Regions from separate parts of the Homo sapiens genome. Here all the other regions are linked to region 1. Evidence: promoter capture Hi-C in 16 types of primary human blood cells and fetal thymus (Javierre and others, 2016). All regions are on one chromosome and are shown on one strand. The core of a region is centred on a gene start or on the middle of the fragment in contact, and the rest is flanking DNA. Distances in the headings are between cores, read along the strand shown.

Region 1 (3,616 bases), core at 814-3,313:
CCAGAGCCAAGGATCCAGCTAAGCTGTGCCTAGACTCCTAACTCCTGGGAACTGTGAGATAATAAATGATTAATTGTTTTAAGTTACTTATTGTGTTACTCCATTCTCACAATGCTATAAAGAAATACCTCATACTGAGTAATTTATAAAGAAACGAAGTTTAATTGACTCACAGTTCTGCAGGCTATATAGGAAGCATGACTTGAGAGGCCTCAGGAAACTTACAATCATGGTGGAAGATGAAGGGGAAGCAGGCTGTCTTACACAGCTGGAGCAGGAGGAAGAGAGAGGGTGGGAGGTGCCACACACTTTTAAACAACCAGATCTCCTGAGAACTCTATCAGGAGAATAGCACCAAAGGAAGAAATCTGTCCCCGTGATCCAATCACCTCCTACCAGGCCCCAATTCCAACACTGGAGATTACAATTCAACATGAGATTTGGGTAGGGACACAAATCCAAACCGTATCACTAATGTTGCAACTTCTTTTTAGAAACAAGATGAATCCCACTTACAATTTGGTTTGGAAGTCAAGAATAACAGTGCCATACATATATCAAGAGCTTAGGAAAAGTTTTATTATTGATATATTCTCAAGGTTTTTTTGGGAGGACAGAAAATGCCTCCTAAGCTGGTCTAAAAGTTATTTAAGAGGGCAAGTGTTCTGGGCTGAATTGTGTACTTCCCTCTTCTCCCAGCCAAATATATACATTGAACTCTTAACCCCCAGTATGTCAGAATGTGGCTATATTTGGAGATAGAGTCTTTAGGGAGGTAATTCCAGTTAAATTAGGTCATTGAGGGTGGGCCTTAATCCAACACGACTGGTGTCCTCATAAGAAGAGGCAATTTAGATATGGAAAGGTACACAGGAGGATCATGTAAAGACACAGGGAGAAGATGGTCCCACAGTGGCTCCACAAGAAACCAACTCTGCTGACTTGTGGCCTCCAGAATTGTGAGAAAACAAATTTCCATTTAAGCCACCCAATCTGTGGTAGTTTTGTTCCTGGACCAAACTGAGGGTCAGGCTGCTATTTCTTGCTGCCAATAATGAGATGTCGATGAACTGGGGATGAAGAAAGTTTTTATTTCTGTAACCAGTTACAGGCAGAAGGCCTGGAAATTATCACCAGACCAACTCAAAATTACAAAGTTTTTCAGAGTTTATATACCTTATAAGCTATATGTCTACATGTAAGTGTACATTCCTCTGAAGATATAAATGTTTCTTTATCAGCATTTGGAACATGCCAGGCAAATAGTAAACACTCAATATCATCTACCATCAGCCTCAGCCTGGGGCCTCACACCCATCTTCTTTTATCTAAAATTCTGAATTAGCTATGAATATTCTCATTTTACGAATGAGGAAAGAAATGTGATCTGAGCTAATGCCTTGTGTCAACAGGTATATTACACTAAGATGGAGAATGATATACTGAATCTGTGTTTGCCTTTAACGTGTGTTTAACTTCGAGAAAAAAGCCAAGGCTGGGCGGTCGCAGTCACGCTGCATCCGGCGACAGGGGGCGGTGTGTCCTGCGAAAAGTCAAAACGCCGGAAGCTGCCCTTAGTGTTTTTCAGCCTCTTGGTCTTAGGGAAAGTGAGGCCGTGTTTTACATCCAACATATTATTATTCTGATAATATGTGACTTGGCGCCACGCGCACTCTGCACTTAAACACGCACTTAAGGGATAAACACATACGACTGAAAAAGAGTTTCGCCCTTGATAGGCAGTGTATGGGGTGCGCAGCTGCAATCTGCAAACCCTTGCAGGGCGCGGGGTTTCGTACACCCGCTCAAGGACGCAAAGAACCTCCATTCTCTGCCATACAAAGCACTCCTGGCCCAGAGAGCAGGAAAGAGCATCAGCTAGGCCCAGCTAGGCGGCGCCCTCGGCCGGACTCTGAAGGTCAGGGCCGCTGGGCGTCCACGCCGCCTGGGTCCCAGTCCCCGTCCCATCCCCCGGCGGCCTAGGCAGCGTTTCCAGCCCCGAGAACTTTGTTCTTTTTGTCCCGCCCCCTGCGCCCAACCGCCTGCGCCGCCTTCCGGCCCGAGTTCTGGAGACTCAACATGAAGCTACCGGCCAGGGTTTTCTTTACTCTGGGGTCCCGGCTGCCCTGTGGCCTCGCTCCTCGGAGGGTAAGGCGGCCGGGGGCGCGGGGAGCGAGGACAGGGCGTCTCGACGCGCAAAGAGAGAGGACAGGGCGTCACGGGGGCTCGGGGAGCGAGGACAAGGCATCCTGGGGCGCAAAGAGAGAGGACAGGGCGTCCCGGGGGTTCGGGGAGCGAGGACAGGGCATCCCGAGGCGCAGAGAGAGAGAGGACAGGGCGTCCCGGGGCCTCGGGGAGCGAGGACAGGGTGTCCCGGGGCTCAAAGAGAGAGGACAGGGCGTTCTGGAGCGCTAAGAGAGCACAGAGCAACCCGGGGAGCGAGAGAGAGGACAGGACGTCTCGGGGCGCAAGAGAAAGGGCAGGAAGTCTTGGGGCACAAAGAGAGGACCCGGCGTCCCTGGGGCTCAGGGAGCTAGGACAGGGCGTTTTGGGGCGCAGAGAGAGAGGACCACCAGGTCCCGGAGCGAAGGGCAACGCCGGGAGTGAGCACCGGGGCCCGGGTCGTATTCCACTGTCAGATGAAGCCCTGATGTGTGTAGGGGAATAGGGAAGAGACGTGATTTTCGAAGTTTTCACAGTTCTGCAAGTTTCCAACTTGTGTGTAAATAGGTAGAAAGAGGTAGGGAAGGATACGGCGCCCGTCCACCCCTTAAGGAGTGAGAGGGGATCAGGCCGAGCGAGCACTGACCTTTGACGTCCTTTGTTGTGAGGAAAGTCCATCTATGTGTTAGTTATGGAATTAAACACTAATACAAACAAATTATCATAAAAATGAAACAAAAACAAAACCCCAGCTGTTTATAGACTCCCCTTCCCAGATGTATAGCTGGGAGAGGTCCGTCTCACACTGGCTTCCCCCTCTCTCTGGCCCACACTCCTGTCACCATCTCCATTGCACCCATAGTGGAAATAGCTAGGAAGTGAAAACAGCTAGGAAGAAGAAAGAGAAACAAAAACAAAAAGAAGCAATAATATCCAAGACAAGCCCTCCCCACATCTAAATTACAAAATTGTTATAAGTAAACTAAAAAGCACATTTTCTTTAGCCAGGTAGAAAAATTAATATGTCAACTGTGAAAAAACTTCTTTTGATTTGATAGAATAGACAGCCATGGTGTTGTTTTTCAAAAAATATGGGCAGCAGTAGTTCCAAATAGGAATACAAAGAATTAGTATGGTGGTTCCCTCAAGTAAGGTATCTTTCTTTTAAAAAGTGAGATTTGTTCAGGGTTAGGGTTTTGCTGATTTTTTTTCTCTCCCTGTGAAAACTGGGTTATAGATCATTATAAAGGAAGCCCATATTTTCTGATACTTTTCAGAGACATTTCTCATTTGAAATCTACAACAGCTCTGTGATGTCTTCAGAGATTTCATTTTTTAACACACATCATTAGGATTGTAGCAATAAGGTCATACAGACCTTATCCAAGCTCTTCTGACACCATTAGACAATACAGTTTGAGAAGGAGAAAATGAACTCATTTAAAAATTAATT
Region 2 (3,616 bases), core at 1-2,500, 980 kb after region 1:
GGGAGAAGTCAGATGACGAACAGGTCTTGCTGGTTGAAGCGGTTTACCAATTAATTTTTTGGTTTCCATTGTCACAAAGACTTTGAGGTTCCATACTAGAAGACAAAAAAATACATTTTTATCTTTTGGACAAAATAATCAAGATGCTTTACATGTATACAAATAACTACATCTTTTTTTAAGATGCCTATTTTACAAGTTAAAGTGGAAAACACAAACACAAAAAAGCATTTAATATGCAATACTCAGACTCCTTTTATAGCATTTGTCACAGTTAAACATTCCCTCTTTGAAACATTTTCTTTAACTTTACTGACTCTATATTTCTGTTTTTCTTTTCTTTTGAGGCAGAGTCTCACTCTGTCACCCAGGCTGGACTGCAGTGGCACAATCATAGCTCACTTCAACTTAAAGCTCCTGGGCTCAAGAGATCCTCCTGCCTTAGCCTTCCAAATAGCTGGGATTACAGGCATGAACCACCATGCCCAGCTAATATATTTTTTTTAAAGATGGGGTCTCACTATGTTGCCCCAGCTATGTTCTTTTGGTTTGTTTCCTATTTCTTCGATTGTCTCTTCTAACTTCCTTAGCTGATTCCTCTTCTTCTGTCTTTCTTCCGAATTTGGCTTTGGTCTTCTTAGCTAAAACTCATCTATGCTCACGGCTGCAACCTCCTATCTACATGATAAATATGCCCTAATTTATACTTCCAGAATCTACTTCTCTTTTAAACTCCAGTTCTATTTTTCTAATTGTCTAATAATATTTCAATTTATATATTATCACAGGTACCTCAAATTCAACATATCTAAAATCTAATTAATAACTTTAACTCCTGTATTCCTTTAAAGTCATCACCAACTCCCTTGGACCACACTTGGTAAAACTGCCTTCAATTTGATGGGCTAAATTAGAGCCTCTGATTCCAAAATCAGTCTTTAATTTCTGTTCACGCTACTTCCAAAATATTAATGTTATTTTGTTTCACCATATATTTGGACATTCAAGTGTTTTGTCTATAGTTCCCTTACTATCTCTGCTGCTCTTCTTCCAAACAGCTATTTATCTGTCAAGACCAAGATCAAGCTCTTGCCACTTCCTTGGAAAATATCCCCCTGTCTCAACAGGTAAGGTTAAATAAAATAGTCTACATGAAGTTCTCTAATAATAAAATAATAATAACAATAATAATAATTCCTCCTTCCTTACATTCCTCCTTCACTGGTCCCTACTGTATTTTATCACTTTTTCTAAAATATATCACAGTAAATATATTACATGTCTACTTATTGGACTATCAGTTAGTTGAGGCCACAAAAACCAGACCTTATTTATTTTTGTATTCTAGTATCTGCAACATAGATTTATTAAATAAACTCTATAAACGCTAAGTACCTCGTCATTGCAACTAAAATCTGACACCTGTATGGGACACAAGATTTCCAAATTTTGATGCCCATCAAGACAAAGTCAAAAATAAAACTCCACTTGATTTTGCACCTGCTTATCCAGAAATAATTGTAACCATATGATATTAAGCAAATCATAAGTCTAAGTGCCTATTTCACCAAGTATAAGATAGAGTTAGTAACCCTTTAAGTTCCCAGAAATGCTTTATCCTATTTTTTAAATATCTTTGGACATGTATAATTCAAATGTTAAAATTATAAACTTATAAACAACCTCTCAAAATTAGGAATGATAAGTAAGCACCCAAAAGTTACTATTTGGAGATAACCCAGCAAGTACTTCAAGTTAATACCAACCCAGCTTTGTAATGTGTCTGTTAGCTAGTATTTCAACGTGGCAAAACTAATGCTCTCTGTACTTTTTGTGCAATACAATTGGATATAACAAGATGAAAAAAAAGTTATAAGCACAAATAGAAAAAATACTTCAAATAAAGTTATTAATATTTTCTATGTAGAAGAGTATATTTAAAATAAGGACCAAAAAGCAACCTAATATACATTGCTTTATTTGATGTTTATCCTAGCTATTTTAGTTAAGACCCTAATACTAGTATGTAGTAACTTTCCATCCTGTTCCCCATATGAAACTAGTGAATCAGAATACAATAGGATAGAGTACTTTGGCACACACTTCGTTGTTTTTCATTGCTCAGCTGAAATTTAGTTGTAGGTTGTTAAGTCTTTTCCAATCGCTGAGCAAGGCAAATCCACAGTATTCAAACTAGGGATTTTCAAGAGTTGGGGATTACAGAACTCCATTATATGACTTTGCAACACAAGTAAATAAACAAAAAATCAAAGCTCTTTTGGTGCCACCTACCCTTCAATTTACAGTAGGAAAGATACAGCAATGGCTCCCTGTATATAAATCCACATCAGTTAAGGAAATTAGAAAAGATGGTGTCATTCAGTACTCTGTTTAATATTTTTTTTTAAAGTAAACGATGCCTGCAGGGAAACACTGACATTATAGGGGACAAGTTTGGGATTACAATGCATAGTACATTCCACCATCATGTTATTAATGAAAAAGGTTAAGTATTTATAAAAAGTAATTATTATTGTAAAACTGAGTCACGAGATTATAATTAAGGCAGAACTCCATAAACCAAAACCTAATTCTCAGTTTAGTTAAAAATAATAAAGACTTAACTGCACTACAAAGTCATTATACAAAACAAATTCAGTCTTAAACTCTAATGCCTGCTTCATCCATGGAATGTAGAGATCAAAAAGTTTCCCTTGAAGCTACTGGTGCTACCTAGAGTAGCCATGTATCATATCAACGATTCAAAGCACAGTTACAAAATAAACAGAATTCTGCCTACAACATTGGGTAGCAAGTAGTGGGCCTATCATAAGGTTGTAAAATGTAAATTTAAAAATGTAAATGTATAGTTTTGTGGTATAAATGTTTTTTAAAGGATATTTTGATCCAATGTCTCCAAAAAAACTTTCTATTAATACATACTGAGAAATGGTTGCTGAATAGTTTTTTTCAAGATCACACACACTTAACAAATCATCTTTAAAGACCAAGTTGTATGAATAGAATATTGGTAAATCAGTTAGTTATTTACAGTTGCTATTCTACACCTGGCAATACTAACTATATCTTAGGTTCCTTTTCTTTTTAAAAAATTTACCTAAGTATGAATCTTCAGGCCTTATCAGTCCTGATATTACCAGTAAACCTAGAATTGTCTAAAATACAATGGGATAATAAGCAGATACATTGACCACTTTGGCCAAAATCTTATTAATCTTATTTTTTAATTAAGATGCCTTTTTAAGGTCCTACTACATACTAAATATAATTTCATTTAATTTTGAGCCATATATGAACGGTGGAAGAAAATTATTATTAGTCCCACTTCACAGATAAGAAACCTGAGGCTCAGAAAAATAAGAGACATGCCCAAGTCCACATAGCTACTAAGTGCTAGATATTAGGATTTGACTACAAAGTTCACACCTTTATATCAAAACTTGCCTATTTGTTACATAAAAGAAAGATATCTGACTGTCCATTTATTACATGTGGACACTGCGTGTATAGATTTAAAAATTAATGTGAAAAGTAACATTTATTTATAAGGCCATGCAGAATAAATTGGTATATGCTAATAATATCCATTTCTTCA
Region 3 (3,616 bases), core at 356-2,855, 960 kb after region 1:
ACATTTATTCTTACAGACCATGGATTACATATCCCAAAGATCTTTGAACCGGTGGGAAAGTTGAAACATCAAGTACATTTTTTCTTATTTAATATTTATGCATGAGAAGTATTATAAAAAATTTTAATTCCTGCTTTAATTAACTTTAAAAAGAATTGGCTAGAGATCTAAAGTTAGGGAGTTTAAGAAATATTAATATAAACTATGAACAACATAATGTTTTTTAAAAATTATAATTTGAGGAAAAAAATACTATGAATTCCAAAGAATTAGAATACCAAAAATGGAGATAGAAGGTAGTAGTGTTTATCTCCCATTCGAACTGTTCTCAGTATACCTATATTCTGAATCTCATTTCAGAAGAGTCCTAGCTGCCTTTACCTATATAAAGGTATTTACGAAAACTCTAATAGGAAGTTAAATTCCAGTCAAATGTAAGTAGAGACCACAAAGAATGGGAATCATTTACTAAAAGCATAATGAGAGAAAGGTATCATACTCAGTAATCTCATGCATTATTTTATTAATCCTAACAGCCAGAGATTATCATCCTTATCAGCAATTGCAAAACTTATCATCCTTATCAGCAATTCAATGAGGTTAAGTGACTTGTCCAAGTTCGAACTACCGGTACACAGAATGGAGCTACAATTTGAAGCCATGTCTGATGACAAAATCCATGTCCTTTCCAATGAATATCCTAAGAGATGCATGTATGTATTTATTATGTGTATTTATTTAGATGGAATTTGATAAGGTAACACAGAAATATAAAGGGCTAAGAATAGCAAAGACATGTTAAAGAAAAATACATGAGATGATTTGTTATAATGTATAAAAAGACTAATTGAACAGAATGGATAGCCCATTAACAGACCATGCATACATTGCCACAAAGATGTCAGAGAAGTACCCTTTCAATAAATATTTTTAAAATGACTGGATATCTATGTAGAAAAAGGTAAAACTTGATGCCCACCTCACATCATAGAGTAAAATTAATTCCAGGTGGACAATATAATTTAATTGAAAAAATAAAACTTTTAGAGTATGGGATAATATTTTCATGACCTTTCCATTAAAAATATTTCTTAAACAAAATACAGCTATTCCATTCTATTTTTTGAACAGAGTTACTTTATAATAATTGGTTATATCTTTAGATTTTTGTAGTTTTCTGAATTACTTATATCTTATAATAAGGAAGGTTAAAAATCTAGAGGTAGAGTCTGATGAAAATGTTAAAGAAAAATATTTTGTAATATAATATTACAATACAAACTTAGAAAACTACTTACTGGTTTTTGCAGTACAATGGGATGATCAGGCAGAAAGTCTGGTTTTTTTCTGCAGATGGAAACACTTGAGAGCTTCAACAGGAAATCTCTGCTGTATTTAATTCTCTCTGTAGATATTAAACATCAAATATAATGTTAGGAAATGTAGGGCTGTCTAGATCACTTTTTGGTTCATTTCTTTCTGGATGTCCTCTATTCATTATATAAAATGATGAGTCGTGTGTCTATGCAAAAGAGAAGGAGAAAAAAGGCTTTGACAAGCATCTACTGCCTCCAATTCTCCTTTTACATAGAAAGAAAACCAAGTAACCAAGGAAACAATGAAAGAAATATAATTAAGAAAATGGGAAATGCATGGCTTTTTTCATCTGGTTATTCAGGTCTAGTAAAATGATCTTGTGTAAAATATAACCACAGTAATAACTATTGGGCAATTCAGATCTGCCAAAATGTTACTTTAATGAGTCTATCAAGTCTCAATCAATACTAAAAACTTAACACAATAAAAATAAATTCAAGAAACATTTATTGTACATCTTACTATGTATCAGGAACTGTGCTAGGTAATAATGAATAGGACCCAAGATAGGGCCCCTATCTTCAAGGAGAACAATGTTTCAAATATCTGCAGATTTCAAATCAGAAATGATTACCAGAAACAATCACCAAGACAGATTATATGCTGTCCCAGAAGACAATGGAATAATATTTTTAATGTGCTAAAAGAAAAGAACGGTAACCCAGAATTTCATGTCCAGTGGGGGGGAAAAAACCCTCAGAAATACATGTGAAGGAAAGACATTTTCAGATAAAGTAAAACTGAAAGAATCCATCACTAGCAGATGTGACCTTCAAGAAATGCTAAAGGAATTTCTACAGGCTGAAGGGAATTATACTAGATGGAAACTTTACTGTTCAGAAATGAAGAGCAAAAGAGATGGTAAATAGGTGGGTAAGTATAACAGATTCCTTTTTTTCTCTAAGTTTTATTTTAAGAAATATGTATTACTGTTAAAAGCAAAAGCCACCACAGATAATATATAGATGAAGGGTGTGGCTATGTTTCAATACATTTTTATTTATAAAAACAGGAATTGGTCTGTAAACCATAATTTACTGACCCCCTAAACATTACATTAAAGACTACAAATTGACAGAGTGGATTTAAAAAATAAGAAGACCCTATTATATGCTGTCTGCAAGAGACACATATTAAATATAAAGGCATATAAGTTGAAAGTAAATGGATATAAAAAGATACACATGAAAAGACTAGGAATAAGAAGGGTTGAATTACTATCCTTACATCCTATCAACTAACAGGTAACAATTATTAATGTGTTGTTCCTAATACACAGTTCTGAAATACATCGAGGAAAAATTAACTTACCAAAAATTTTGGGTCTGGCTTCTTTCATTTAACATTTTTGAGGTTCATCCTTAATCTGGAACATTCTACGTAGCCAAACCATCAATCAAGTGTGAGAACAGAATAAAGATATTTTCAAATATGCAAACTCAAAGAATTCACCAACCCAATACCCTTTTTTCACGAAACTCCTGGAGAATGTACTTGAGCAAAATGAGGACATAAATCAATAAAGAAGAAAACATAAAATTCAAGAAATGGAGGTAAGTGAAGTCAGGGAAAATAGCCAAGTAGAGAACTCTAAAAGTCTTTCACTCCACAAAAACAACAAGTAAGCTCATAAAAACTGTCAGAATCAACTTTCTCAGAACCCTGGACTCTAACCCAAAGCCTGTAAAAACCAGGGGAATACTTAGTGAAGAAAAAAAAATAGCTAAATTTGGGAAAAATTTTGTGGCATTTAACTTACCTGGGACCATCCCCCAGATAGGCCATGGCCTTGAAGACAACAGCCCTCATTACTTTTATAGGTTCCCAGAACTGGAGGGAGTAGTACAGACTTTATTCTCAAAAAATTATGATTATTTGTTTTGACCTTTCTTATAGTTCCCTGAGGAACCATCTTGAGAAGCTTGCCTGTACTTCACACCTAACTAAGAATTCTCCTAGCATTAAAGCTGCTGCCCAAAGTCCATTTGTCCAAACATTTACAGGAAAATGTATCAGTTGCTTCCACCTGAGACAAGGGATAACAATTGGAGCAAACATTAGGCATACCAAAAAGTTTCGGAGGAAAAACTGAAAAAACAGGATGCTTTGAGGTAGAAGGGCAGTGAAAGAATCCCAAATATTCTTTCTAGAAGCCCACATGCATGTCAAAGCTAGGCTCATGTTCACAGAAAAACTTGAGAAGATCCTAAGCACTCACTCCTGGCTGACTTTCAGATTC
Region 4 (3,616 bases), core at 793-3,292, 940 kb after region 1:
GGCGGATCTTGAGGGAAGCCTTGAAACTACAATTGCTATAATGCTAATAGGATTTGTTACAGGAAACAGTTGGCATCCAATCCAGTGTGATCCATTAAAAACAAGCACCATCTGATGCCATTACCATTTGAACAGGGCCTGTTGTAAGTAGTTAATGTGTTTGACAACCCTGTAATATTTGATATACCTTTGGAAATGCATGAGTTACTAATTTTTTTGAAATCTAGTTGTTTGTAATGATTGTCACTTATGTCTAATATCACAAAATATTCAAGAAATTGGAGCTGTGCAATGAACAATAGGACTTCTCTTTAAAAATTGGTAAGTTGTTATAGGGAAGTGATCCCAGCTCTGCCTGCACAATACAGACACTTAGGGAGGTTTTAAAAATAGCAGTGCCTGGGCCCCACTCCCAGAGATTTTGATATAAAGATAATTTTAAAACTTCTCGAGTCATTGAGAATCACTGCTTTTAAAGGGAAACACGTCATTGTAAAGAACACGTTGTTTAGCTTCTGGGACTAGAGGCAAGGAAAATATCTTGCCTAGATTACAGCCTTTATACAGTTTTATACTTGGAATAGTCATGGCCTTCCTTGGTCATATTTTTGGATGACAATCATCTGTTTTTGTGAGGAGGAATGGGATGGGCAGTAGGAGTCAGCTTAAATCGGGCTCCGTGACAGCCAACGCAGTGACCCTCGCCCCTTCCTTGGCAGCACATCATGCTTGTGCAGCGGCAGATGTCTGTGATAGAAGAGGACCTGGAAGAATTCCAGCTCGCTCTGAAACACTACGTGGAGAGTGCTTCCTCCCAAAGTGGATGCTTGCGGTAAGTGCTCCGACTCCTGCACCTTAGGCCTTTGGCAGCCTGGGAATACAGTGAAGGCATTTCTTACTTTAGACAAGGCTGGGGGTCTAGAAGACAGATATTTGAGAATCCTCACATTAAATTATACAGAGCATTCCACCTGGGTGATGTCATTTGCTGCCTTTAACTGAATGTTTTCTCTTTAATCTTTAAACCCCGTGTCGTCTAATCTTTAAACCCCGTGTCGTCTGATCATTGGGGCACCAAGTAAAATGAAATAGAACAACTTGAATGAAGAGACTGAATTTCAAATAAGTTGAAATTCCCTTTTGCATCCAGGCAGCCCACACTCTGATTTAAAATCATCTCTGGTAGATGAGGCGCCAACTCTAGGACATCTAGCTGTGATTGCTCCCTTGGCAGTACGCCCTGTGGCCTAATGACCATTTCAGCCATTAGGAAATTGCAGGCATCCCTGAAGTCATGATTTCAGGCCTTGGTCATTAAAAGAAAATGAAGCAGCAGCAGATCTTTTCTTTCCTCTTTCCATGGGTACCACCCAGCTCAGGCTTCGGATATCTCAAGCTACTAAAATATACTATTCCTCATCTTCAATTTTTTCACTCCAACTGGTTCAATAAATAGTTACTATAATAATTTTCTGGAAACAGTTATCATAGAATTCCCTTAACTGGGAACCTAAAGTAACTCTCTAATGAGTATCTTATCAAAGGCTAGACATTTGTCCTGACTCTATATTTAATCCTACTGACAGACCCAGGAATCCATATCACTACTATTATTTGTTCTCCCTCATCTAAACACTCTGCCTCGGTGATGCACAGATAGAATTTCTGATATAATCTGTTTGTTCCCCACTGTGCCTCAGACCTGGCTATTCTTCCTCTCAGAAATGTGCACCCAGCTGCAAGTCTCTGCCAGCCCATGCACTGCCTCAAGTTCAGAGCCCAGGTCCAAATTCATCTGCTTTTAGAAAACTTCCACAACCAAGTCTAACCCTACCTTATGAGCTTGCTTAAACTATATTTCATAATGCTCTTCAAATGTTGCTTTGGGAAGGTTTTTAGAAAATGTGTGTGTGTTTGTGTATGTGTGTGTACATGTGTGCATAAACAGATACTTCATGTCTCTGGGTGTTTTGCTTTTCCTCTCAGTGTTCAATTAATTATATTTTATTCATACCCCAGCAGAATATTTCTCTAGCTAAGAAGTCTGGCTCTGGAAATAAACATGGAATTTTACTAGCTTTGTGGTTTTGAGAAAGACCCTCACTGGCTCTAAGCCTTAGTTTCCTCCTCAAGAGGCTCATGAGATGGTTGGGAGGATTCAGTGAGACAGTCCATATGCAGTGCTCAGCACAATGCTTCCCATCCACTGAAGACGTGAGCTGAAGTCACTATTGCGTTTACTACTGTTTCCTGGTTGTCTGGGTGGCTGACCTCCTCTCTAGAGTATGAGTACAGTACTTCCTCAGTGCCACTAACAGCTCATCATCTTCCAGTAGTGCCTTTGAAACAAGAACACAGGAAATGCTGTGTTTCCATGATTATTTTTATTATTCTATTTCACGCCAGACTCAGAGGGCACAAATCAAAACCCCATTTTAGTCCTTTTTACTTCAGTGACTCAAGACTTGCAAAGGTGGGAATATGTGTAGTTTTTAAGAGCCCACTCATTTGAAAATAAAATTGAATATTTAAAAATTCAGGGTGCAGTGGCTCACGCCTATAATCCCAGCACTTTGGGAGGCCGAGGCAGGCAGATCACGAAGTCAGGAGTTCGAGACCAGACTGACCAACGTGATGAGACCCCGTCTCTACTAAAAATACAAAAATTAGCTGGGCATGGTAGCATGTGCCTGTAATCCCAGCTACTCAGGAGGCTGAGGCAGGAGAATCGCTTGAACCCCGGAGGCGGAGGTTGCAGTGAGCCGAGATCGCGCTACTGCACCCCAGCCTGGATGACAGAACGAGACTCTGTTTCAAAAAAAAAGAAAAATGCAAACAGTACCTATATATACACCGTTCACAGTGTAAACTTCCCAAAATAGAGCTCAGTAAACTCTTTTTAATGAGGATACAGAGAAGATAAAGTCTATTTCAGTGTATTACAATCTCCAGGGATTGAGTGCATGTTTTATATTTATAAAAAAGGCGCACAAGTTTATTTTTTAGGTTCAGAAACACTACTTTAATGGGTGTTGGGAAAATGACCTCGAGCTACTAGAACAGCCCCAGGGAAAGGGAAACAGGCTGTGGGGGAGTGAGAGAGTGGATAGATTTGTGCCGCCTGCTGCAAATTCCATTCTCTCAATAACCACAATAAATTGCTCCATCAGCTCCTGCTGTGAAGTAGAGGAAAGGAGAGCATCTTTTTCCTGTAAGATAGATTTTCAGCCTCTCTGTTTACTTTGCAAGATTGGTTTGTTTCATACAATTCTTCGTTCACTTCTTATTGCTGATTTTTCAGGTAATTTCTTTTACTGGAATTATCAAAATGTAGACTATATCAGATGGAATGAGCCTCAGGGAATCACTACACCCATATGGAATATATATGGTATAGATGTTATGCCAGTGTGTCTGTCTACATTCAATTTTTCAGTTGTACCAGTTAATCAAATTCAATTTTCTACCTGTATCAATTGATAATCAAATGCCACTGATGCCATCAGTCATGCTCCAATGCACCCAGCACAATTGCCTAGTGCTTGGCTGAGAAAATAAATCTCTGTGAATGTCAGAGGTTCTGTTCTCCCATGATGTTTAGCTTAGTCTCATCATG
Region 5 (3,616 bases), core at 512-3,011, 920 kb after region 1:
ATTTCAAAAGAAAGTTTTCAATACCTTCAAAAACTAAATAAAAGATATTGCATTTATGAATTAAGGATAGAATGCTTTAAAAATAATATTCAAAGCACACAAAAGAGGTCTTGGAAATTATGATTGCAAAAATTACATTCTCTGAGGAAGGTTGAAATATAAAAGTGTGAGGAAATCTCCACAAAGAGGTGAAATATAAGAGATAAGGAAACTAGAGGCTCAGTCCAAGAGGTCTACTGTTTGTAAAACAGCAATTCCAGAAAGAGAACAAAGCAGAAAAATTATCAAAGGAAGAATTTAAGAAAAATAGTCAGAATTGGAATATGTGTCCAGTTTGATAGAACAGATCAAGAGCTCATTATAATGCTAATAAAAGTCCAACACAAAATACATCATTATGAAGTTTCACAATACTGGAAACAAAGACAAGTGTCTAAAAACTCCCAGAGAGAAAAACCAGGCCATATGCAAATAATCAAGAAAACACTAGATTTTTCACTAGTGACTCTGGGATATAGAACACAATGGAGCAAATTTTTCAAAACAATTGGCAATCTAGAAATCTGTATGCCATAAAACCATCAATAAAGTAAGGAAGATGTTTATTCATGCAATGTTTCAAGAATTTTACCTTTCATTATGCACCTTTTCTTATGAAGCAATTAGGGGATATTTTCCACCAAAACAAAGGAGTCAGGTAAGAAAAAAAATGAAATCTAGTAAAAGGGGGATCAGAGGTCATCCAACACAGGAGAAAGGCTAAAGGAATCTTCCCTAGCTGATAGATAATGAAAATTTTTGGATGAGTACATTAATCTTAGATTTGTCTTAAACACAGAAGGATTATATCTTACACACAAGGGATTATATCTCCTATAAAGAAATCTTGTTGGAGGCAGCTTAAGTATTATGTCCTTACAGATTTATCATAGACACTCTTTCTTTTTCACATATTAAGTGCATATTAATATAATAAACTATTGCCAAGTTTGCCTCATAGACCAAGATGTTTGTTGGCGATCCAGCTACCATGTTCACATTCCAACCAGGAAAGAAGATTAAGGAAAGACAAAAGGGATCCCTTCTAGCTGAATCTGTACTTTTAAGCAGCCTTCCTGGAAATTCCTTACAACATTTCCATTTGTATATCATTGGCCTGAGCTTTTCATATTGTGAAGTTAATAGATAAAGCCTAAAACTAAAAATTAAAGACATAGCAATTTAAGCATGTTATATACTGATAATTTAGAAGGTGTTTACTTTCATATCAGTATATAACATATACTGTATATAGTATATAAGATATACTGTATATAATATATATTTTAACATATGCTACTTTCATATCATAACATATACTCATATGAAAGTAAACACCTGCTAAAAAGTGTTGCCTTTTTGAAAGAGGAGTGGGAATATGATATGGGGGTGAAACGAGGGAGCTCCTGTTTGTTGAAATAAGATTTATAGAATCATTTGACTCCTAAAAATATATGGATGTATAGCTTTGATCCAAAAAATTAAAAACTGAATTACAGAAAAAACTCCATAAGTGTTTTCAAATTAAACAAAATACAATAGCTGCATACACGTTTTTCCACTGAAAGTTGACCAACAAAGGAAAAAAGCCTACCTTAAATTACAATTTTTACTCAGAATTTTAAGAATAAAGAAAGCTCAGAATTCTCTTTCTTAGGTTCACATACTGTAGTACCAAATTACATTGGGTTTCTAGAGCATTTACAAGCAGTCATTCTCATAAGTTTTCATTTTGCTGCACTAGAAAACCTTTATGACTGACGCATGAAGATCTCTTCCCTGAAGGAAGAGACTGAAGCACTAACATTAAGGTTAAATGTTATCTCTGTTGATCAAGGCAAGGGCCAGCCAAGCCAGAAGTCCTGTCGATTCAATGGCCTGGAAAACGATCAAGCCGCCGAGTCCAGAGACACAACAGCTTCTCCCCAAACAGCCCTCAGTTTAATGTCAGCGGTCCAGGTAACATACCCTTCATTTGTTTTTATTTGTCAAAGTCTATTTATCTTGCGTTTTCCAATTGATTATTTTAACAAACAACAGATAAGACAATAGTAATGGAACACTTTCCTTATACCAAGTAAGTTTGAGACAGAAGCAGTGAAGAGTGTAGTATGAAGAACTGGGGTGGTGAGCCTAAAATCAGCATGGTCAGAATCCTAGCAGTTGTGCCTGGAAAGCACACAGAGAGATGGTGAATAGGGAAGGCAGTAGCTTCATCAGCTAACATCTAAAAGACTTGACGTCTATAAGGACCCCCCATGATCTTGAAATAAAGGGACTCTACCCTAATATGCTCTAGATCTCCAAGCCTCCCTAAGCCTATCCTAAGTTCATCTGGGGAAAGGATCCTTGTTTTCATAATAGGATTAGTCATAGCTGGTGTTTTTGAAGTTTGTAATGTGATATAAGATTTACTGGGCTAAACCATACCCATAATTGTTAGGTTATTAAATTTTAACTGTGTCACTTATAACCATTTTAAAATCAATTTGAAATATGCAAACTCATGTTGCTAAATATTGGAGTAATTTTTATAAAGCATGCATATATACATGCACATATGTCACTTGAACGTGTCATTTTAACACGAGTCTTTATCTAATATTCAGAAAATCAAGGTATAAGCTATATTCTATATTTTCACCAACTGTACTTGAAAGATTTCAGAGTATTTTTATGAATAAAGCCTTATTTTATCTTGACACCTGATAAAATAGATGTTAATTTCCCTATTTCTCCATTTCACAGGTAAGGAAACAAGCCTGGGAAGTTAAGTGATTTGTCCAAGGTCATATGGAATATTAGTCCATTTTTATTGTGAAGCGACCTTAAAATCTTGATGGTTACACCTGTAGATACTTGTTTTTCTCTCTCATGAGTCTATGGTTGGTGATTTGGGCAATTTCAGTTGGATGTGGTTCCAGGCTGTATGTAGGTTGAGTTTGGCCCCACTCCTCATGTAGCCTCCTTCTGGAATAAGCAACAGCTGGATCATTTTCTTCTCCTAGTGGGTGTCAGAAGCACATGCAGCCAGCCCAAAATTATACATGCATATTAAAAACCATTGTTTTATGTACTGTGTGCATCTTGTCTGGTACCTCTCCATTGGCCAAACAAATCACATGTCAAGCACAGTAACAATGGGGAGGGAAATGTGCTTCATTCATTATAATAGGAGATACTGCAAAGTTGTGGTGCAAGGGTATATACAGATACTTCTATAGCAGGAAGAAATTGAAGAATTGGGAAAAATAATATGATCTACCACATGGAACTAGAAAATGACAATGCTAAGCTCCTGAAGCAACATATAGATTGTTCTTTCCATTTTAACCATTTAGAAAATAGTCCAAAATATCTTTTCTTGGGTCTCTGATGTGACAGCCACCTTAAATTATTTTGGGAATAACCCAGATTAGAAATATTGTATTAGAATTTAAAAAAAACATAAATTTTATTAGTATATTTGTAATATTTTCTCCAATCAGCCCCTTTCTTTTCTCTCTCTTTTTTTTTTTTTTGTAGCCACTTCTTTGTGGCAGTGCCAGTGCTCATTTTTACATCATAATTTGGTGGG
Region 6 (3,616 bases), core at 472-2,971, 760 kb before region 1:
GACTAGACTGTCTAAGGCCACAAGATTAGAAGTTAGGATAATACATGTTACAGTGTTAACTTTTAGCAAACTTTACTTTTGTTGAAAACCTTGTAAGTTTGGGATTTCAATTATTCTTTGCTATTAAGACCTCATTCAGTCCATATTAACTTAGAACTGGTATAGATTCTTTCTTGCTTCTGTAAGTACTTTAAGGTTCGGCTGAGTGCAACAGCTCACACATTTGAGCAGACCAATTATTAGGCAATCTTCCTAACTCTGCTTCTACAAGAGTTTCCTTATCACTTACTGAATATCCATTGTGTCTTTTTTCCCTCAATCACTTGGGAGGAACCATCTATCATTCTGTCCTGAGAGATCCTTCTAGGTCTGGTTGGACCTTTATATGGTAATTAATTAAGATTTAGATTCCCAGTTAGGAAGCCCGCTGGGTTAAGGGAATTATCAGTGGTTAATGTTAAATCATCTTTTTCTAACAGAATAGCCCCATACTTTAAGATTTTTGAGTGAGTAAGCTACCTTTTCCCTTTTTTTTTTTTTGACTTAGGATAGTTCTGAACTGGTGCAGTGTGCTCACAATGAGGTTTCCTCTAAAAGTTATTTTTCTACTTTCTTCTGTTAGCAAAGCAGTTGTCGCTACAGATTGAATGTACTTGGGCCATCCACGGGTTACTGGGTTAAGGATTTTTGATTAGGAAGGCTATGGGTTATCAGTGGCCTCAGTGCTCTCAGGTTATGCCCTTGTTCACACTGACAACAAGGTGGTATTGGAGTGTTATAGGGTCATGGAGAAGACCTTCAATTATCAATTATAGGTTTTAAATTTACCCTGGCTTTTAAAGGAATAGAGTACACTGTTTGTTTTCCCTAATACTTCTATCTCTGTCTTTCTCTCTTTCTTTCTCCTTTGACTTTCTGTCTCTCTCTTTCTCTCTCTCTGACTCCCTCTTTGTCTCTCTGTCTCTTCTTCTCTCTTTCTGCCTCTCTCTCTCTTTGACTCCCTCTTTGTCTCTCTGTCTCTTTCTGTCTCTCTCTTTCTCTCTCTCTCTTTCCTCTCTCTCTGCCAGCCACATGTGCTGCTGTTCTCCCCTCTCCTTCCCCTTCCCCTTCCCCTAGGGGAGGGACCAGTGGGAGTGGAGCTATCCTTTCCTCCCCTGAGAAGAAAGGAAAGAGGGGGTTTGTGTGAGGTTCGACCTTTGAAATTAGTGGAAGGCTCAACCCCTCACACCAGGGATGTCTTGCCTTGTCTGTCCCAGAAGGCTCAAACTCTCACACCAGGGGGTGTCTTGCCTTGCTGCCCTGGAAGGCTGACCTGTTTCTTCCTTTTCCCCCTCTGAAGGTCCCTTGCACACTTCCCACTCATGTCGTCCTCTCTGGCTGCTCCCTCAAGGGAGAATTAGGCCCCTCTTAGTGTTGGTGTGCCAGTATAAATCCCATGGCAGGATCCACCCTAAGCCATATGAGGTAGCTATGGAACCGCAGAGAGGACCCACTCACTCTGTCCAGCAGTAGGACTTGTCACCATCCACAAGAACAACACCGCAAGCAGGGTTGTTTGTGGTCACTCATGCACACACACATTTAGCCCTCTAGAATTTGACCACCAGGGAAGTACTTTACTGGTTCCTGCCCCTTCTCCTTCCTTGGTCGGTCCACAGAGTCGTTGCCGCAGAATGTGAAGATCCTTTAAGCTAGGTTGCTGGCCAGTTTTTTTTTTATTTTTTATTTTTTTCTGCATTGCTGAGAGCTGGGGTTATTCCTCCCACTGTGTGGGTCTTGATTTGACTATAGAAGGAAGTGAAGGAAGATAAGGAGGACCCAGATGAAGAAGGAACCATTAAAGAAATTTGAGCAAGGAAATGAGGTTTGCACCTTAGTTTGATAGCATGTGGAAGGGCAGGCTTAGAGAGACAAGCCTGGAGCCAGGAAGAACAGCAAAGAAGCACCTGCTCAGGGGAAAGAGTTATGGATACTTGAACTAGGGGCAGCAGTGTTGATGGAAAGGAACAAAGAAACTGGAAATTTAAGAATTTAGAATTGGTAAGGCTTGTATCTGATTAGATGGTGTGGAGCCAGGGAGTGTAAAAAAGCTAAAACAAACTGCTGGGTTTTTGGTTTGAAAATTTGGTAAGTGATAGTAGAATTCACCGAGCTATTCCAAGTAGACCTTTCACTATCTCACTTTGTTGGCTAGTCCCACTCAGCAGTCCTAAGCAGATGTAGTTGCTTCTCACTCAACATATTTTACTTATAAATATATACATATACTTCTTATAAGGTCCTGGTGCCCCTTGAAGGCATCGAGATATTGCACAGGAATACATTAATAGAATACAGCTAACAGATCTATTTTGGAGCAAAAACCAATGAAGTTCAGTCACTATATCTACCTTATAATTTCACTTTGCATATAGTGCCCTTCTTGAACATTAGACTTAACTGTCATGGGACATTTGAATCAACTATATCAAAAATTGAGGGTAATATATATTTATTAAGGACTTATATAAACAGCTAGGATTACAGAGGACAATTAGCCTTATGAGGACATGCCTAAGAGTAAGACAAACAAGGTTCCCCTCTGTATTAAATAACTTCCAGGGCCCTACAATGCCTTATTATATTATATAAATGTAATTTACACTTTTAAGATCACAGTAACCTGAAAGTCAAAATAGGGTCAAAACTGAAACTAATATTTCTCCAGTTGAATGCTTCCCTGAACTAGAAGAATCTCAGCTTCACTCAAATTCCTCCCAAATAGTTTTGAGAGTCTCCAGATGTCTCACATCTACTTTACATACAAGTTCCCTCAGATCTCCTTCTCTCATGATCCCATTTCAGCTCTCTGTGGTGAATCTGATACCCCACTACTGATGCCAGGATCTACAATGGTTAAGGTTCCACTGCCTGACAAACATGTTAGTGATACTGGTGCTTGCTGTTGTCTGCATTGAGGCTTCTGATATCTGTTACTGAGGATATTGAGGTTTACCCACAGAGAACTCTTGCCTGGTGCTGCTGAAGCTCTTCGTATACCATCTCCTCTGAACAGAGTCAACATATGACTTGTCTTCAATTATAGCCAAAGCTGTAAGTCCCAATATCACTAATGCTTTTCTTTGAAGCTCTTAAATGCATTTAATTCTTAATGCATAGCAGTTCTATTTGACTGTACACCCTAGTACTCAAAATTGATTCTAAGAAAGCTGTATGGGAATACAAACTAAAACAATGAATGCTATACCACCTTAAGAACCAGTTGATCCCTCCATCCTTGGCCACTGTTCTTGAAAACAAAAGTGAATTGACTCCCTTTTTCTCTAGAATGATTTGCTCCAGAACAAAGTTTAATTCTTTATGTATGAAGACCCATAATTGTTTCTATCACCCTGCCTACATATTCCTAACTAGTAAGGTAAATAAACTAAATTTAGGCTACATTTGAGAACTAAGCTACATATTTTACATGGGAACCACTAAAATTATCCTATACCATATTTTTTTTTTAAAAAAATGAGTGTGGCCCTGAACTAAGAATAGGGTCTCTAAAAAATATGATTATAGACTCTCTTTCTCTAATTTGGTGTCTTAAATTTTTATTAATGATTATGTT
Region 7 (3,616 bases), core at 669-3,168, 660 kb after region 1:
AAATAAATTTCATGTGAGAATTACAGGCTACTTGGCAATGAGGAAATCACTCACTGAGTTGTTAGGAAAATAAGTTTACCTGTCTAAGAAAATCAGATATGCAATTTGTCCCATGATGATAATTCTGTCTGGTGAATAGGATAAAAATATTGATTTTTAAAAAAGGTTACTTGTACTTCTAAAGCAATTCACTTTATAAAATAAATTTTTTAAATAAAATATCCTCTAATTTAGTTGAATGCTTACTAATAGTGATAACGACTTGAGAAATACGCTGAAAAAAAGAATTTGAAAGCTTAATTCTTAGGAAATATTACCACTTAATGATTAATCAAAATGGAATAATGTCTTAATATGAAAATAAAATGACTTACAGAGGCAAACATTTCATTTATATTTTAGTGATATCATTATATTAAAAGTTAAGTACCAAGAAATCATGTAAACACTTTTAATGTAATTTTTTTTTTAAGACGGGGTCTTGAGCTCCTGTCTTCAAGTTTTTCTCCTATGTTGGCCTCCCAAAGTGCTGACATTACAGCATTGTGAGCCACCGTGTAGTGTGAGCCACTGCGCCCAGCCAAATGTGATATTTGTTATTCTTCTATGCCCTTTGGAAAAATGGTATTCTAAAAGTTCATAAAATAAAAGGAATTGGCTTGAGTTTGTTAATAAGTATTAATAAATACAGGAAAAATACTGCTTTGCATAACAAAACTAGTTTAATATTTAAAAACAGTTAAATATTTTTCATTTGCACAAAAAAATCTGACCAAACTCCTTTTCAGATTTAATGCACGTGAAGTTAAGATTAATATCTTTGTATTCCTGTTTTTATATTTTTATTGCCTTATAAGTTGATGAAATAACATTCCCTTCTAATGTTAATGAAAATCTTCAATTGAGAATAAGCTGGAAAATCTATTTAATAAAGGGACTTTTTCTAGGGGGGCATTTGTGCATAATTCCTCTTCATATACCCAGTATATAAAATATGCCTTTTAAAAAATATTCTGACAGCCCATAAATACAGTACCTATTTCAAAAACACAATTGTCCTGGAGCCATTCCTCAGGTTAAAAGTCAAAAAGCCAAATAACAAATTGGCTCTGTGATGACACAGAAAGAATGTATTGAGCATTATTCCTTGGGTTGCATTTAGACTTGGGTATGAATAGCCCAAGATTCTTCCCTATATTAGTTTCATATTGGTGCAACAAGCTACAGAGTGACCTAAAAAGTGTCCTTCTTGGTTTTATTACAGGTTAAACTGTAAAGCAATATGCGATCTATTGTCTAAGTTATCTCAATTTTATTTTGGAACTTAAGATCCTCACTAGGTTCTCTCATTTTGAGGGTCATCCTTCTTAATTACTCCCACTGTTTTCTGAGTCCCTTCCCCTCCCCGCTAGTATTTTAGTCTGTTTCATATTATCTTTTATTTTGGCTCCCTTCTAATTTTTTACTAAATACTGAACTTGTATGATATTCCCTTTTATGCTAGGCAGTATTATTTTGACACATAAAATGAGGACTTAGTGTATAAGAAATGTATATTGAAAATATGCATAAAAACACTGGAAGGAAATATACCAATATGTTTCCCTTTGAGTGTTATTACAAGTAATTTTTAAAAATCGGCTTAGTACTTTTTATCCTTTCTAACTTTTTTTGACAGAGAAACAGATAGCACTTTATTTTGCTTTGTTCCAACTGCAAAATTGGACAGAAAATCCCTCTAGGTTTTTGTTTGTTTTGTTTTGTTTTGCTCATGGGTTATCTTGTTAAAATGCCTTCACTGGAACTGTTTTATGTCAAGAAGTTTGTTGTAATGTCACCTTGATCATTTCTGACTGTGCTTAGTTAGATCTTCTGGGTTTTTGTTTTGTTTTGTTTTGTTTTTTTGTTAATCTAGTTAGCAGTCTATTGATCTTCTTTATCTTTTTAAAGAAACAGCTTTTGGTTTCATTGAGCCCTTATATGATTTTTGGTTCTCAATTTCATTCAGTTCTGCTCTGATTTTGGTTACTTCTTTCCTTCTCCTAGCTTTGGGGTTACTTTGTTCTTCTTTTTTAACTTCCTCTGTGTGTGATATTAGATTGTTAATTTGAGAGCTTTCAACTTCTTGAGGTAGGCATTTAGCACTATAAACTTTCCTCTTAACACTGCTTTTGCTTTGTTTCAGAGATTTTGGTATGTTGTGTCTGTTTTTATTTATTTCAAATAACTTTTTGATTTCTGCCTTAATTGTATTGTTTGTCCATAGTCATTCAGAAGCAAGTGATTTAATTTTCATGTAATTGTGAGGTTTTGAGAGATCTTCTTGGTATTGATTTCTATTTTCCATTCTTGTCTGAAAGTATAATTGGTATGATTTTGATTTTTTTGAATTTGCTGAGACTTGCTTTATGGCTGAGCATGTGGCCAGTCTTAGAGTATGTTCTGTGTGCAGATAAGAAGAATGTATATTCTGAGGATGATGAGTGGACTGTTCTGTAGATGTCTATCGGGTCCAACTGGTCAAATGTGAAATTTAAGTCCGCTATTTATTTGTTAGTTTTTTGTCTTGGTGATCTGTCTAACACTGTCAGTGGAGTGTTGAAGTTCTCTACTATTATTGTGTGGCTATTTCTACTTATAGGTCTAGAAGTACTTGTTGTATGAATCTGGGTGCTCCAACATTGGGTGCATACATATTTAGGATAGTTAAGTCTGCATGTTGAATTGAAACTTTTATCATTGTGTAATGTCCTTCTTTGTCCTCTTTTACTGTTGTTGGTTTAATGTTGGTTTAAAGTCTGTTTTGCCTAACATAAGAATAGTCACCTCTGTCTTTAATGCATTCCATTTGCATGATAGATCTTTCTCCAACCCTTTACTTTGAGCATGGGATGTCCTTACGCATGAGATGGGTCTCTTGAAGACGGCAGATAGACGGTTTGTTTTTGTTTTTGTTGTTGTTGTTTGAGACAGGGTCTTGCTCTGTTGCCCAGTGGTGTGATCACTGCAACCTCCGCCTCCTGGGTTCAAGCAATTTTTATGCTTCAGCCACCCTAGAAGCTGGTACTACAGGCACATGCCACCACGCCCAGCTAATTTCTATATTTTTGGTAGAGACAGGGTTTCACCATGTTGGCCAGGCTGGTCTCAAACTCCTGATCTCAAATGATCTGCCCACCTCGGCCTCCAAAAGTCCTGGGATTACAGGCATGAACCATCACCCCAGGCCTAGGTCTTGTTTTTTTAATCCAACCTGCCAGTCTGTGGCTTTTAAGTGGGGTGTTAAGACCATTTACATTCAATGTTAATGTTGATATGTGAAATTTTGATCCTATCATGAAGTTATTAGCTGGTTGCTTTGTAGTTTTTATTGTGTGGTTGCTTTACAGAGTCTGTGGGCTATGTATTTAAGTGTCTTTTTGAGGGAGCAGATATTATTCTTTCATTTCCATGTTTAGCACTCCTCCCTTAAGGAGTTCTTGTAAAGTTAGTCTCTTTGTGCTTACTTGTCTGGAAAATATTTTATTTCTCCTTCGTTTATGAAGCTTAGTTTGATGGGATATGAAATTCTTGATTGAAGTATCATTTCTTTAAGAATGCTGAAAATAGGTCCCCA

Evidence for each region. Contacts are between HindIII fragments. The CHiCAGO score rates a contact against its expected background, and 5 or more counts as called.
Region 2: a fragment that was not itself captured here is called in contact with the fragment with the promoter of DECR1 in region 1 in 15 of 17 cell types (naive B cells, fetal thymus, total CD4 T cells and 12 more); the score reaches 21.3 in naive B cells.
Region 3: a contact is called between a fragment that was not itself captured here and the fragment with the promoter of DECR1 in region 1, in 13 of 17 cell types (naive B cells, total B cells, total CD4 T cells and 10 more). The highest score is 13.3, in naive B cells.
Region 4: a contact is called between a fragment that was not itself captured here and the fragment with the promoter of DECR1 in region 1, in 13 of 17 cell types (naive B cells, total B cells, naive CD8 T cells and 10 more). The highest score is 27.2, in naive B cells.
Region 5: a contact is called between a fragment that was not itself captured here and the fragment with the promoter of DECR1 in region 1, in 2 of 17 cell types (total B cells and naive B cells). The highest score is 8.1, in total B cells.
Region 6: a contact is called between a fragment that was not itself captured here and the fragment with the promoter of DECR1 in region 1, in 1 of 17 cell types (non-activated CD4 T cells). The highest score is 5.8, in non-activated CD4 T cells.
Region 7: a contact is called between a fragment that was not itself captured here and the fragment with the promoter of DECR1 in region 1, in 9 of 17 cell types (total B cells, M0 macrophages, monocytes and 6 more). The highest score is 7.2, in total B cells.

Annotation. Positions count from the first base shown.
Region 1 is chr8:89,999,414-90,003,029 of GRCh38, forward strand. DECR1 (2,4-dienoyl-CoA reductase 1) reads left to right here and starts at 2,064. Exons shown (of 10, transcript NM_001359.2): 1 at 2,064-2,148. The coding sequence starts at 2,080. RefSeq lists enhancers at 1,408-1,702, 2,551-2,690 and a silencer at 1,981-2,080. The HindIII fragment of the contact is 6,361 bases long and covers 1-3,616 here.
Region 2 is chr8:90,980,367-90,983,982 of GRCh38, forward strand. C8orf88 (chromosome 8 open reading frame 88) reads right to left here. Exons shown (of 6, transcript NM_001190972.2): 2 at 1-95. The coding sequence starts at 69. Among named protein-coding and RNA genes, the nearest start is that of C8orf88, 3.1 kb to the right of the region's middle. The HindIII fragment of the contact is 5,795 bases long and covers 1-3,616 here.
Region 3 is chr8:90,959,444-90,963,059 of GRCh38, forward strand. It overlaps C8orf88 (chromosome 8 open reading frame 88), which reads right to left. Exons shown (of 6, transcript NM_001190972.2): 5 at 1,299-1,405. Among named protein-coding and RNA genes, the nearest start is that of C8orf88, 24 kb to the right of the region's middle. The HindIII fragment of the contact is 3,382 bases long and covers 1-3,296 here.
Region 4 is chr8:90,940,067-90,943,682 of GRCh38, forward strand. It overlaps NECAB1 (N-terminal EF-hand calcium binding protein 1), which reads left to right. Exons shown (of 13, transcript NM_022351.5): 10 at 720-832. The region is part of intron 1 of LOC105375634 (a long non-coding RNA gene); the gene reads right to left. Among named protein-coding and RNA genes, the nearest start is that of C8orf88, 43 kb to the right of the region's middle. The HindIII fragment of the contact is 7,402 bases long and covers 1-3,616 here.
Region 5 is chr8:90,923,659-90,927,274 of GRCh38, forward strand. NECAB1 (N-terminal EF-hand calcium binding protein 1) reads left to right here. Exons shown (of 13, transcript NM_022351.5): 7 at 1,877-1,998. All of the region lies in intron 1 of LOC105375634 (a long non-coding RNA gene), which reads right to left. Among named protein-coding and RNA genes, the nearest start is that of C8orf88, 60 kb to the right of the region's middle. The HindIII fragment of the contact is 6,117 bases long and covers 1-3,616 here.
Region 6 is chr8:89,238,609-89,242,224 of GRCh38, forward strand. No RefSeq gene overlaps it. Among named protein-coding and RNA genes, the nearest start is that of PARAIL, 520 kb to the right of the region's middle. The HindIII fragment of the contact is 4,416 bases long and covers 1-3,616 here.
Region 7 is chr8:90,660,865-90,664,480 of GRCh38, forward strand. No RefSeq gene overlaps it. Among named protein-coding and RNA genes, the nearest start is that of TMEM64, 17 kb to the left of the region's middle. The HindIII fragment of the contact is 3,250 bases long and covers 294-3,543 here.